Linked DNA regions of Homo sapiens: all the other regions are linked to region 4. Evidence: promoter capture Hi-C in human tissues and cell types (Jung and others, 2019). All regions are on one chromosome and are shown on one strand. Each heading gives the region's core, a stretch centred on a gene start or on the middle of the fragment in contact. The rest is flanking DNA. Distances are from core to core; before and after follow the strand shown.

What was found. The method cuts DNA at HindIII sites, captures the fragments that hold promoters and counts their contacts. A contact is called where the count stands out against the background at its distance.
Region 1: a contact is called between a fragment that was not itself captured here and the fragment with the promoter of PDE9A in region 4, in 1 of the 25 tissues and cell types used here (dorsolateral prefrontal cortex).
Region 2: a contact is called between a fragment that was not itself captured here and the fragment with the promoter of PDE9A in region 4, in 1 of the 25 tissues and cell types used here (spleen).
Region 3: a contact is called between a fragment that was not itself captured here and the fragment with the promoter of PDE9A in region 4, in 1 of the 25 tissues and cell types used here (stomach).

What each region holds. Positions count from the first base shown.
Region 1 is chr21:42,895,864-42,898,783 of GRCh38, forward strand. NDUFV3 (NADH:ubiquinone oxidoreductase subunit V3) reads left to right here. Exons shown (of 4, transcript NM_021075.4): 2 at 1,064-1,184. Among named protein-coding and RNA genes, the nearest start is that of NDUFV3, 4.0 kb to the left of the region's middle. The HindIII fragment of the contact is 5,741 bases long and covers 1-2,920 here.
Region 2 is chr21:42,862,379-42,865,231 of GRCh38, forward strand. WDR4 (WDR4 tRNA N7-guanosine methyltransferase non-catalytic subunit) reads right to left here. Exons shown (of 11, transcript NM_018669.6): 4 at 1,062-1,218; 5 at 1-16. Among named protein-coding and RNA genes, the nearest start is that of WDR4, 16 kb to the right of the region's middle. The HindIII fragment of the contact is 4,099 bases long and covers 1-2,853 here.
Region 3 is chr21:42,428,666-42,431,411 of GRCh38, forward strand. The region is part of intron 8 of UBASH3A (ubiquitin associated and SH3 domain containing A); the gene reads left to right. Among named protein-coding and RNA genes, the nearest start is that of UBASH3A, 26 kb to the left of the region's middle. The HindIII fragment of the contact is 9,602 bases long and covers 1-2,746 here.
Region 4 is chr21:42,651,827-42,654,870 of GRCh38, forward strand. PDE9A (phosphodiesterase 9A) reads left to right here and starts at 1,795. Exons shown (of 20, transcript NM_002606.3): 1 at 1,795-2,057. The coding sequence starts at 1,989. LOC101928255 (a long non-coding RNA gene) reads right to left here and starts at 1,832. Exons shown (of 3, transcript XR_244322.4): 1 at 1-1,832. RefSeq lists an enhancer at 759-1,480. The HindIII fragment of the contact is 36,096 bases long and covers 1-3,044 here.

The sequences.
Region 1 (2,920 bases), core at 240-2,739, 240 kb after region 4:
ACTGTAATAACCATTAGAAGTATACCATGTGAATGTTTTGCACTTACATGTAGTGGTAATATGTAATATTCATATGCACGGTACCTACATGCACACAATCCCAGCACTTTGGTTGTTTTTCTTTTTTTTTTTTTTTTCCTGAGACAGTCTCACTCTGTTGTCCAGGCTGGAGTGCAGTGGCGTGATCTCAGCTCACTGCAACCTCCACCTCCTGAGTCTAAGCAATTCTCCTGCCTCAGCCTCTGCAGTACCTGGAACTACAGGCATGCACCACCGTGCCTGGCTAAATTTTTTTTTTTTTTTTTTTTTTTGCGACAGAGTCTTGCTCTGTCGCCCAGGCTAGAGTGCAGTGGCACGATCTTGGCTCACTGCAAGCTTCACCTCCTGGGTCCACGCCATTCTCCTGCCTCAGCCTCCCAAGTAGCTGGGACTACAGGCACCCGCCACCATGCCCGGCTAATTTTTTGTATTTTTAGTAGAGACGGGGTTTCACCGTGTTAGCCAGGATAGTCTCGATCTCCTGACCTCATGATCCACACGCCTCGGCCTCCCAAAGTGCTAGGATTACAGTCGCACCGCGCCCGGCCTTTTTTTTGTATTTTTAGTAGAGACGGGGTTGTCCAGGCTGGTCTCAGAACTCCTGACCTCAAGTGATCCGCCCACCTCAGCCTCCCAAAGTGCTGGGATTATAGGTGTAAGCCACCGCACCTGGCCAATCCCAGCACTTCAGGAGGCCGGGGCTTCAGGATCGCTTGAGGCCAGGAGTTTGAGGAAGCCAGGAGTTTGAGACCAACCTGGGCCACGTAGCCAGATCTCGTCTCTATAAAAAATAAAAAATATTAGCCAGGCATGGTAGTATGTGCCTGTAGTCCTGGCTATGTCAGAGTATCGCTTGGACCCAGGAGTTGAAGGCTGCAGTGAGCCATGATTGTGCCACTGCACTCCAGCCTGGACGACTGAGAGAGACCCCTGACTCAAAAAATATATATATATATTCATATATAGTACCAGCTATTATAATGGCATTACTCTAAACATCCATATTCATTAATTCTTTTGTCAGACTATGCTCCAGGAAGCCCAGGTGTTTCGAGGACTTGCTTCTACGGTTTCTTTGTCTGCGGAATCAGGGAAGAGTGAAAAGGGTCAGCCACAGAATTCCAAGAAGCAAAGTCCACCAAAAAGTAAGATTTTGATGGTAGTCATAAGGGAAAGAGAATGCAAAAAGAAAATAGATTAGTCAGCCTTCGAAGCACGACAGTGAGTTTTACTAGCTACGTAATTTATGCTTCTTCCTTTTCAGCAGTGTCCAGATTATACAAGACACAAGATCTATAACAGATTTTAGACCAAACATTTCAGTCATGTCGTAGTCTTTGACTGAATATTTAGCCCTGAAATGGTTTTTCCTGTATTTTCTAAATGCCAAACCCCAACCTGAAGTGAGTGATGCCTTGGTAAAGGCTCTGTGGCATTTAGATGGCCCCGGCACAGTGAGCTTGCCAGAAAGCCACCTTACTTTCCATCCTCTGATGCTGAGTTGTTTGTTTTGTTTTGTTTTGTTTTGTTTTGTTTTGTTTCAGTCTCTTTGAGACCCATCTGTGGTTTTCCAGGCTTTGCTTAATCCCAGTCCAGGACTAGCTGGGACTACAGGCATGTGCCACCACGTCTGGCTAATTTTTTGTATTTTTAGTAGAGACAGGGTTTCACAATGTTAGCCAGGATGGTCTCAATCTCCTGACCTTGTTATCCACCCGCCTCGGCCTCCCAAAGTGTTGGGATTACAGGCGTGAGCCACTGCGCCCGGCCTAAATCTTTAATTCTTTTTTTTGAGATGGAGTCCTGCTCTGTTGCCCCTGCTGGAGTGCAGTGGCGCAATCTCGGCTCACTACAACCTCCGCCTCCTGGGTTCACACCATTCTCCTGCCTCGGCCTCCTGAGTAGCTGGGACTACAGGCGCCCACCACCATGCCCAGCTAATTTTTTACATTTTTAGTAGAGGTGGGGTTTCACCATGTTAGCCGGGATGGTCTTGATCTCCTGACCTTGTGATCCGCCCGCCTTGGCCTCCCAGAGTGCTGGAATTACAGGCGTGAGCCACCGTGCCCAGTCCTAAATCTTTAATCATTATATGGGGTTGTAGAATAGTAATTGAGTTTGGTCTTATTTTCATCAATATACTATTTCCTCAGTTTGAATGTTTGAAAGTATTTAGATTCTTTTGTTTTCTTCCTCCTTGGTCTGTGCACAGAACACTGGTAAGTTTTTAAATATTTGTATTTATACAAAGAGAGTGCCAGCCCCTGACTGCCTCTCACAGTGTGTGGACTTGAGGCTTGGATTCCACGGGAATGTTATTTAGTTTTGTGCTATGACTCCTGCCTCGTTTTTCAATCATTGTTTTTTTCTCTTCTTCCTTTTATGTTATTTGTTTTAAGAGAGGGGCTCTGGCTCTCTCTCCCAGGCTGGAGTGCAGTGGCACAGTCATAGCTCACTACAGCCTCAAACTCCTGAGCTCAAGCAATCCTCCCACCTCAGCCTCCTGAGTAGCTGAGACTACAGGCACATACCACCACTCCTGGCATATCCCTGGCATGTTTTGTTGATGTTGTTGTTTATTTTTTGAAATAGAGTCTTGCTCTGTCACCCAGGCTGTAGTACAGAGGCACAATCATAGGTCACTGCAGCCTCGACCTTCCAAGCTCAAGTGATCCTCCCACCTCAGCCCCTGGAGTAGCCAGGACTACAGGTGCACACCATCACACCCTGGCTAATATTTTAATTTTCCATACAGATGAAGTCTCACTGTATTGCCTAGACTGGTCTTGAATTCCTGGGCTCAAGCAATCTCCCTGCCTCAAACTCCCATAGTATTGGGATTACAGGTGTGAGCCACTGTGTCCAGCCTACCTGGCATGTT
Region 2 (2,853 bases), core at 1-2,500, 210 kb after region 4:
CATCAGGACTCACAGCCTGCATCACCAGGGGCCAGAAAAGAAAAAGCCGCTCACCTGAGTCTTCCCGAATCAAGTCCCTCATGGAAGAAGGCAGGGAAGCTGCAGCCTGGCCGCCAAGAGGATGAGGCCTTCGAGGACAGACCAGCGTGGCTCCTCCCCTCCTCCCGTCCCTACGTCTAATTGGTGGCCCTCATTCTCCCTCCCCAGAGGGTCCCTGGCCACCTCTAGCCCTCACTCCTCAGTGCTAGAGCAGGCTTCTGGGGTGGGGCAGTGCCACCCCTGCCTGCCTGTCTCCCGCACCTTGGCAAATCCAGGCCCCACGCCCATTTCCACCCGCCACAGGCCTGCTGCACCCTCCTGCCCAACACTGGGTTGCCTTCCTTGCCTTCCTGTCACACATGTCCCCACACCCATCTGTCACCAAGTCCCAGTGAGGTTCCCTTTGATACCCCACACTCGCCATTGTTCCTGACTGTCCCTGTGTGCGTCCAATCCCAGCTCCACCACCCGGGCTGTGGGCCTGCGCCCTCTGGGGCTCCAGGTGTGTGTCTGTGACACACGGGGCACACAGAGTGGGGTGACAGGGGCTGCTGGGAGCAGTGCTGAGGTGATGCTCCTACAGCACCTGGCACAGCTCCCGGCCAAGGAGGCGGAGCCAGAGGCTCGTGGCTGCACCTGCTCCTCCCACACCTTCACTTCCAACCTGGGGCCACCTACTGACCACCTCCTGTCTCACTTGCCTTCTTCATTCTCCCTGCTGTCTGCTCCACCTTCCTAAATCCTGTTCCCACCACTCCCCTGCTCCCAAATCTGCAGAGGGCTGTCCCTGCTACGGGGGAGCCCCATTCTCCCCACCAAACGCTGGGGCACAGACCGGGCAGACGTTGATTCAGCCTGTACCCCACATACCATGTCCCCCACGTACTGCGTCTAACAGCATGGACAGGTGCCTGAGCCTTGACAGGGTAGACATTGACTCAGCGTATGCCCCACGTGCCACGTCCCCCATGTACCGTGTCCCACACCTGCCATGTCCCCCACCTACCACGTCCCCCACCTACCACATCTAACAGCATAGACAGGTGCCCCAGCTCTAGACGGCCACACCCGTGTGGCTCCAGCACCGAAAAGGAGTAGACGTCTCCAGACTTGTCGGCCACCAAGACCTTCTCCTCCGAGGCTATGAAAGTCAGGGCTGTACACCTCCTTGCCACGGTCCTAGAAGGCCAGAAAGACACCCCCATTAGCTTCCAGGAGCAGCGCAGGGTCCTCGACAGCCTGGCAGGCCACGTGGGCGGTGGCAGGCACCGGTACCTGGCCATATGCTCTGTTTTCCAGCTGCTGAAGGTGGTGCCAAAAAAATTAAGCAATGCTAACAACTGGAACAAAGCCAATGCCTTCGACAAATTTACTTTCACAACGTTTTTCTTTAAGAAAATTGCTCCTAGCCGGGCGCAGTGGCTCACACCTGTAATCCCAGCACTTTGGGAGGCCGAGGTGGGTGGATCACAAGGTCAGGAGATTGAGACCATTCTGGCTAACACGGTGAAAACCCCGTCTCTACTAAAAATACAAAAAATTAGCCAGGCGTGGTGGCGGGCGCCTGTAGTCCCAGCTACTCGGGAGGCTGAGGCGGGAGAATGGCGTGAACCCGGGAGGCGGAGCTTGCAGTGAGCCGAGATCCCGCCACCGCACTCCAGCCTGGGGCGACAGAGCGAGACTCCGTCTCAAAAAAAAAAAAAAAAAAAAAAAGAAAAGAATAGAAAATTGCTCCTGATGGTGGGATCTAGGTGGTGGATAAATGCGTGACAAAATCCTCAACTTTCCTGTGTGTTTGAAAACTGTCATCAAGAAATGGGGGAATGGTTCCTTAACCCCAGAGTCTTCATCATGCATTGAGGGAGACAACGGCCCTCTCCATAAACGCTGAGTGTGCTGGGGGCCACTGTCAAGGACAAAGGCAGGCACCAGTCTCCAGGGCCCCCCAGCCTTGCCGCTCCCCTGACCCACACTGACCCCTGCTGCTCGTTCTGCTGCGTCGAACCAGGAGCCTCAGACAGAGAGCCGTGCCCCATGCCCTGCAGAGGGATGGAGGGGCCTGGCCACCCTCAGGGCAGGACCCAGCCCAGGGCAGCAGTGAGGCAGCACCCTACCCTCCTCGGGAGGAAGCTCGGTTATCCAGCGTGTGAGAGGCCTGCGCTCCCCCCAGTCCACATCCACATCAGCACATCCATGAATCCAACCCCGACCCAGAGTCATGGATGCACCAGAGTTCCGGATGCAGCACGTTTGCACACTGCTTCAGCAAGAACCAAAGTCACAGTTCGCTCCCTCTCCTTCGCCAGGGCTCAGGGCTACACTACTTCCTGGGGCTCTCATTTCCACATCATTTCTACTGGAATCGTCCCGTATTTATGTCCTCTCCACAAGGCAGGGACCCATATGTTCTATTTTACATAGATATGAGTTGTAGCACAGCTTCCCACACACGCAGTTAGCCACAGGGCCTCACTACAGAACAGCAGCCAGCCCTGCTTCCCCACCCCCAGGGCTGTGGCAGCACACACTGCCCAATACGCAGCCAACACCAGGCAGACAAGTACAGGGCGCCCGGCCCACTGCGGCTGGAAATTGAGATGGAAGCTTCAGGAACGCTGTCCTCAATGAGGCCCCTATGTTTCTCTCAGGGGCAGAGGGACTAAAAGACAGAAAAGGGCAGGCAGGACCTTTGGGCCACACCCCAGGCTGGAAGCAGCATCCCTCCTCCTCCCTCACAGCTGTGCAGCAGAGCTGCAGAAGGGAGGCAGAAGGGAAGTATAACGGGGTAAACACAGAGAAAACAAGGACAAAGAA
Region 3 (2,746 bases), core at 19-2,518, 220 kb before region 4:
TTTGACCCAATACCTGGGTACTGTGGAGAAGTACCCAGGTATTGGGTAGGGGGAGAGCCTGGAATGGAAGTCTCTGCTCGTAGCTCAGCCTGTGTCTAAACCGTGCTTTCAATGGCTGAAAACAGAACATGCATCTGCCTGTGAACTGGCCCCCCTCACACGGTCTTCTCTATAGGGATTTCACCCCTTCCCTACAGTAAGAAAAGACAACTGGCCACAGGTCTGGTAGAATCATGGCCCCAGAGATGATGCCCTAATCCCGGGAACTTGTGCATGTGACCTTATTAGGAAAGAGAGTTTCTGCAGATGGGATTGAGTGGAGGGTCTTGAAATGAGGAAATGATCCTGGGTCATCCAGGAGGGCCCTAAACCCCATCACAAGTGTGCTGATGAGAGAAAAGCAGAGGGGATCTGATACAGCAGCAGAGGAGGCCATGCAGCCAGAGAGGCAGAGACTGGAGCAATGTGGCCACAAGCCAAGGAACACCTGGGGCCACCAGGAGCTGGAAGAAGCAAAGAATAAATTCTCCCCTAGAATGTCAGAGGGAGCATGGCCCTGCCAACACCTTGACTTTGGACTTCCAGCCTCCAGAGCTGTGAGAGAATAAATGTCTCTTGCTTGGCACCGCCCAGCCTGTTATGGCAGCCCCAGGACACCAATGCAGCACCTTCTGTCTAGAGAATTGGTGCAGCCCTGCCTCATTCCATAGATCCCAGGGGTCAGTCCATTCCACTCCCCACAGGGCTTTCTTTTGCTTTATCATCATATTCCTGTGGCAAAGCTCCACAGAAGAACATTTAAAATGCTCTGAGCTCTTCCAGGAAGAAAATACCCCAAATCCAAAACTTCAGCCCGCAAGTTGAAAACTTCAGGGACTTTGTTACTAGGCAGAATGAGTTTCCAAGAGCATGCATGCTTTGCAATCTACTTGCAGATCAGCTCTCTACAGCTCTCTAGGATGTTTTAATATTCATTCTGGGATAGGGGCGGTGGGTGCTGCCTCTTGGTGTCAGTGTAGGCAACCTCTGCATAACCACACTTCACATGCAAGAGAGCAAGACAGCAAGACAAACCTTCCCCTGAAGCTGTTCCCCAGGAGATGCATGTTTCTATCCTGAAACAAACAACTGAAGTTTTCCAATAAGGGAAAGCAATACTATTCACTTGGCCTTACCGTATATCCGTTTTGAAGACTCAGCCCAGTGACCCTAAGAAAGTGTTTGCATGGTGACTGCAAACGTTCTCACTGGCTCACCAATCCCATAGTTTATGCACCTACCAAATGTAGCCAGGGCCACCGAGAACTGTCTGGTCCTGATAAATTTCAGCAGCTGGAAATTCTGCATCGTCCGGGCCAGCGTGGACTTCACAAGGGATCCACAGGATCTGGCAGGAGCTGCCCGTGGTGCTGACCCCGAGAATGCTTTCAAGGCAGGTGAAATTGGCCCCCACCCTACTTTCTGGTGTCCCTTCCTTCCCAGTAGTTTCCAATCACTTCCCTAGGTACAGGGACACCACGGGGGACCACTCTTGCCAGAGCGAGTGGCCAGTTAGTGCAGACCCTTGAGACTGGATCACTGTTCACAGAAGAAAGTCCAGACAGGAATGATCAGCTGCACTGGCCAGGTGGAAAATGAGTCCCTTCCTCCCTGAGGGTGTTTGGATGTTAAAGCCATTTGCATTTTCCTCTCTAGGATTTGGAGGGAATCAGGGCGATGCTGGGGCTGGTGTATGAGGGTTTATGCAGACAAGGCTTACCTCTCCTCACCTCTCTTCCTTACCCTGCTCAGTAGGAAAACACACACAAGAGCTGCCCTCTCATTTTAGCCCAGAGAGAGCTGTGTGGCCAAGAGGGAGCAGGGCAGGGATAGTGCCTGTCTGAGCTGCCTCCTGCCCAGGGGTCCTCCCTACCCCGTCCATCCCTGGTCGCCTGGGCTCCAGGCAGGATTTGGTCCCCAGAAGGCCCCACAGCCCACCTCCCGTGGCAGGCCGTGTTCGCTCTGCCCCCACCATCTCTGTTAATGACTCATCTTTCCATGTTCATCCCTTGGCCCAGGGAGACCTGCAGCTCCCTAAAGCAGGGATGCTGTGGACTGCAGCTTCATGGACCAGCATGTGACATGCTCCCCCCTGCGGTGCCATGTCACAGGGAGGTTGAGGCATGAGTCCTGGGTGCCAGAGGGCAGCACCACTGGGCCTGTGTTGCTGCAGGGTTCCCCACCTCTTGCTCTGAAATGGACCCCCCTGGATAGCCTGGGCCTGGCTCTGGGGCTGGGAATGTAGGTGAAGGGCCGATGTCAGCTGGCACATTAGTGCCCTCCAGGGAAGCAGCCGAGCCTGGTGTCTCCCTCCAGGGTCCTGGTGCAGGGCTTATGCTCCACGCAGCTGTCCTGGTGGCCTCTAGCTGGCTCGGCCCCTAGCACTCTGCTCTCTGGTCCCAGGGGGGGCATCCTCAGCTCTCATTCACTCTCTTCATCTCATTTGCTGTGGGTTCCTCTCAAGGCCAGTCCCTCAACTTGATCAGCCCTGCACAGCATGGGGAGAAGGGTGGCCTAGCCCCTGAGGACAGAGCCCCCCACAACACCATCCCACACAGTGGAGGCCCCTCCCAAAGGGTAGCCAGCCTCGCTGCCCCAAGCATGACCTTTGGGCTACTTCCCCAAAGCACAGGCTCCCCAGAAAGAGGGCGGGCGTGAGCCCTGTAACTGCAAGGCTCCAAGGCCATCCTGCGGCTGCCTGAGGCTG
Region 4 (3,044 bases), core at 545-3,044:
AAAAGTGCAAAGTAATTATAGATGCGATTATTCTCCTGAGCACAGAATCAGCCAGGCAGTGTGAGGGGCCAGCCTGCACTGGTGCTGGACGCACACAGAGTCTCAGAGCCACACCCTCCACCCTCCTGGGGAACTGCCCTGCAGAACCACCCCCCATGGGCGGGCACTCGTCCTTCTGGGGCTCTTGGAGGAAATGGTTACAGAAGACTAGGCCAGATGACAATAAGGGATGGAGAATAACTAAGTGCCAAGCCAATGAGCCATCTGCTGGTAAGAACTCCATGCCAGGCAGCACAGGCGGTCCCAACAGCACGATCTCTGGATTAGCCCAAATAGCATCGGAACATTTGACAACAAATTGAACTACTAGTAATAGTGCTCACTTCAATGAGCCGGGGACACAGTATCCCCATGGCGAGTCAGCTGGCCCGCTGTAACCACCCAGCTGGGTCTCCCCACCCCAAAGGCCTCCAGGCTGTCCCCTTCTCATCCTGTCACTTGAAAAGCACAACTCATGGTGCCAAAGCTCTGACACGGACTCCACTGGAGCTGTGGGCAGGGGGTGCCAAGGTACCGAGTTCCAAGCCGTTGTTATTTGAGAGCGTGCCCCCCGCCATGAGAGCAGGTGGGGGGACATAAAGTGACACAGGATGGACTGGCCAAAGGCTGAGGACGATCACTTACCTCACAGGATGATGCCACCCCCACGGACAGGCAAGGAGCTCTCACCTTCCCCAGGACCCCAGCTGCCACCAGAGCTCCAGATGGCCCTGGGGGTGTCTGTAAAGCCTGTGACCGTCCACCAGGTGGAGACCAGGCTGGCCAGGGGAGGGAGAGGAAGTGACCACTGGCCCTGGCACTGGCTGGCCGGCTCCAGCAGGCCCGAAGGGGAGGGAGGAGCCTGGGTGCACCAGACTCTCTCAATAAGCAGCACCCAGACACTTAACAGATGGAAAGCGGTGGCTTGGAACTCACTTCCAACGAAACAATAGCACATGCTCCGGCTGGCTTTGACACTTGCTTCCAAAGGCGACCTGCACCCAGGGCCAGGACCACGGCATCTGAGCCTCCTCCCCCAGCCGCCAACCCCATTCCCAATGGAGGAGCCCAGGAGAACTGGGGGCGGCCAAGGCAGCCCTTCCCTGCTCCGCAGATCCAGAGGATGCCCACAGCCCCCTTCCCCTCCCGCCTTTCCCACACTCCCTGTAGCAATTCACACAAGCGGGGAGGGGACGAAACTGCTGAATCCAGCAGATAGCTTGTGGCGGGGTAATCCTCGGTCCGGCCCCATACAGGACAGAAATAAAATCGCCATTTCAGCTCCGGGCGCAGCTGGAGGAGGCTGACGCCCCCTAGTTAGGGGAAGGCTGTGGGTGACCGAGAAGGAACTTTTCCCGTTTTCTATTCAAATGAAATGAGGGTGGCGGTCGCAGCAGGGAGAGAGGAGCGAGGGGAGTTTTCCCGGCGGGGCTGGGGGGTCCACAGCGGCGCGGCCACGCTCAGCCCAGCGCTGGCTTAGGAGGGACGGGCTGCGTGGGGAGGCGACGGCTCCGGGCCGAAGGGGTCGCTCAGGGCTCTGCACAGCTGTCCAGGGGGCATCGGGAGATAGGCAGCCGACCGGGGGCTGGAGTCAAGGGAAGAAGAAAGAGGGGGAAGGGAGGTGCAGGGAGTGAAGAGGAGGGGAGAGAGGAGAGACGGGGGAGGGAGGGGGGAGGGGGGAGGGGGAGGGGCGGGCGGGCGGCCGGGAGGAGGAGCGCGCGAGCCGGAGTCGGAGCCCGAGCCCGAGCGCGAGCCGAGCGGAGGAGACCCTGCGGCGCGCGGCGGCGGCTCCCGGGCGTCCCGGGCCCGGTGGCGGCGCGGCTGTGGTTGGCTGAGCGCCGCGGGCCGCCCCCCGCCCGCCCCCTCCCCTGCTCCCCTCCCCCGCCTCCCGCGGCGGCTGGCGTCGGGAAAGTACAGTAAAAAGTCCGAGTGCAGCCGCCGGGCGCAGGATGGGATCCGGCTCCTCCAGCTACCGGCCCAAGGCCATCTACCTGGACATCGATGGACGCATTCAGAAGGTAGCCCCTCCCCCACCCAGACACCCCCTCCTCCCCCCGGGTGACAGCGCCGGGGCCGGGCGCGGCGGGGCGGGACTGTCCGTGCGTCTGCCGGTCCAGGCTGCGGCCTCCGTGCGCTCCGCCAGCTCTGGTCGGGGGCGGGGGTCCCCACGCGCCGGCTCCCCGGGGAAAGGGGCGACTCGCCCTGGGGGGTGGGGGGTGGGGGGGCGGGCTAGTGTTTCCGTTTCACAGGCAGAGCTTTTCTTTTTGAAAATCTGATTAGGCTGAGTTTTTACATTCAAGGGCTGGCACATGAAGCCTTTAATTTCCGGTGGATCGGCCCGCCGGGCAGCCCCGGGGTCGTGGTCCGCGGAGGGGGCGAGCAGCCGCCGCTTCCTGTCGCGCGGGGGCAGGTGCGGGGGGCGCCGGCGGGGACACTGCTCCCCCGCAGGTGAGTAGCTCCGACTGCAGAGGGGGACTCGGGCCGCTGCACCTCCGGGGCCCCGCGGAGAGCCTGGGGGGCAGCGGGTCCGGCTCTCCCCTGCTGTGCGGAGATAGGAAGTCCCTCGAATGTCCAGCGTTCCTAGCGGACTTGAGTTACACGGGAGAGGGGTTCAGAATAGACCCCCTTTGTTCGTGGCCCCCTCTGACGGGCAGGGAGGGACAATGAGCGCGCCGGCTTGGAAGGGGCTCTCATGAGCTCCCCCTAAAGTCCCCAGGGAAAAGCCATTGTGAGGAAATCCCTCAAACCTCAGCTGGGCGTTTCAGGAAGCCCTTGCAGCTGCTTCTCACCTTTCTGCCCACGGAGTACTCCACTGAAGGAGGCCAGGGAGAGATGCCCCAGCCAGGCACAGAGCAGGTGCCGGCCAGGCTTGAGTCTTTCCTGTTCCCAGAGGTGCATTTGGCCAGTTTAATCAGTAGATTTAAGCCAACAAGCCTCCCTCACCCTGTGCCCGGCTTGATCCCCGTGAAATGGAAAGTACAGCCCTCTCCCACCGTAGCCCGCTT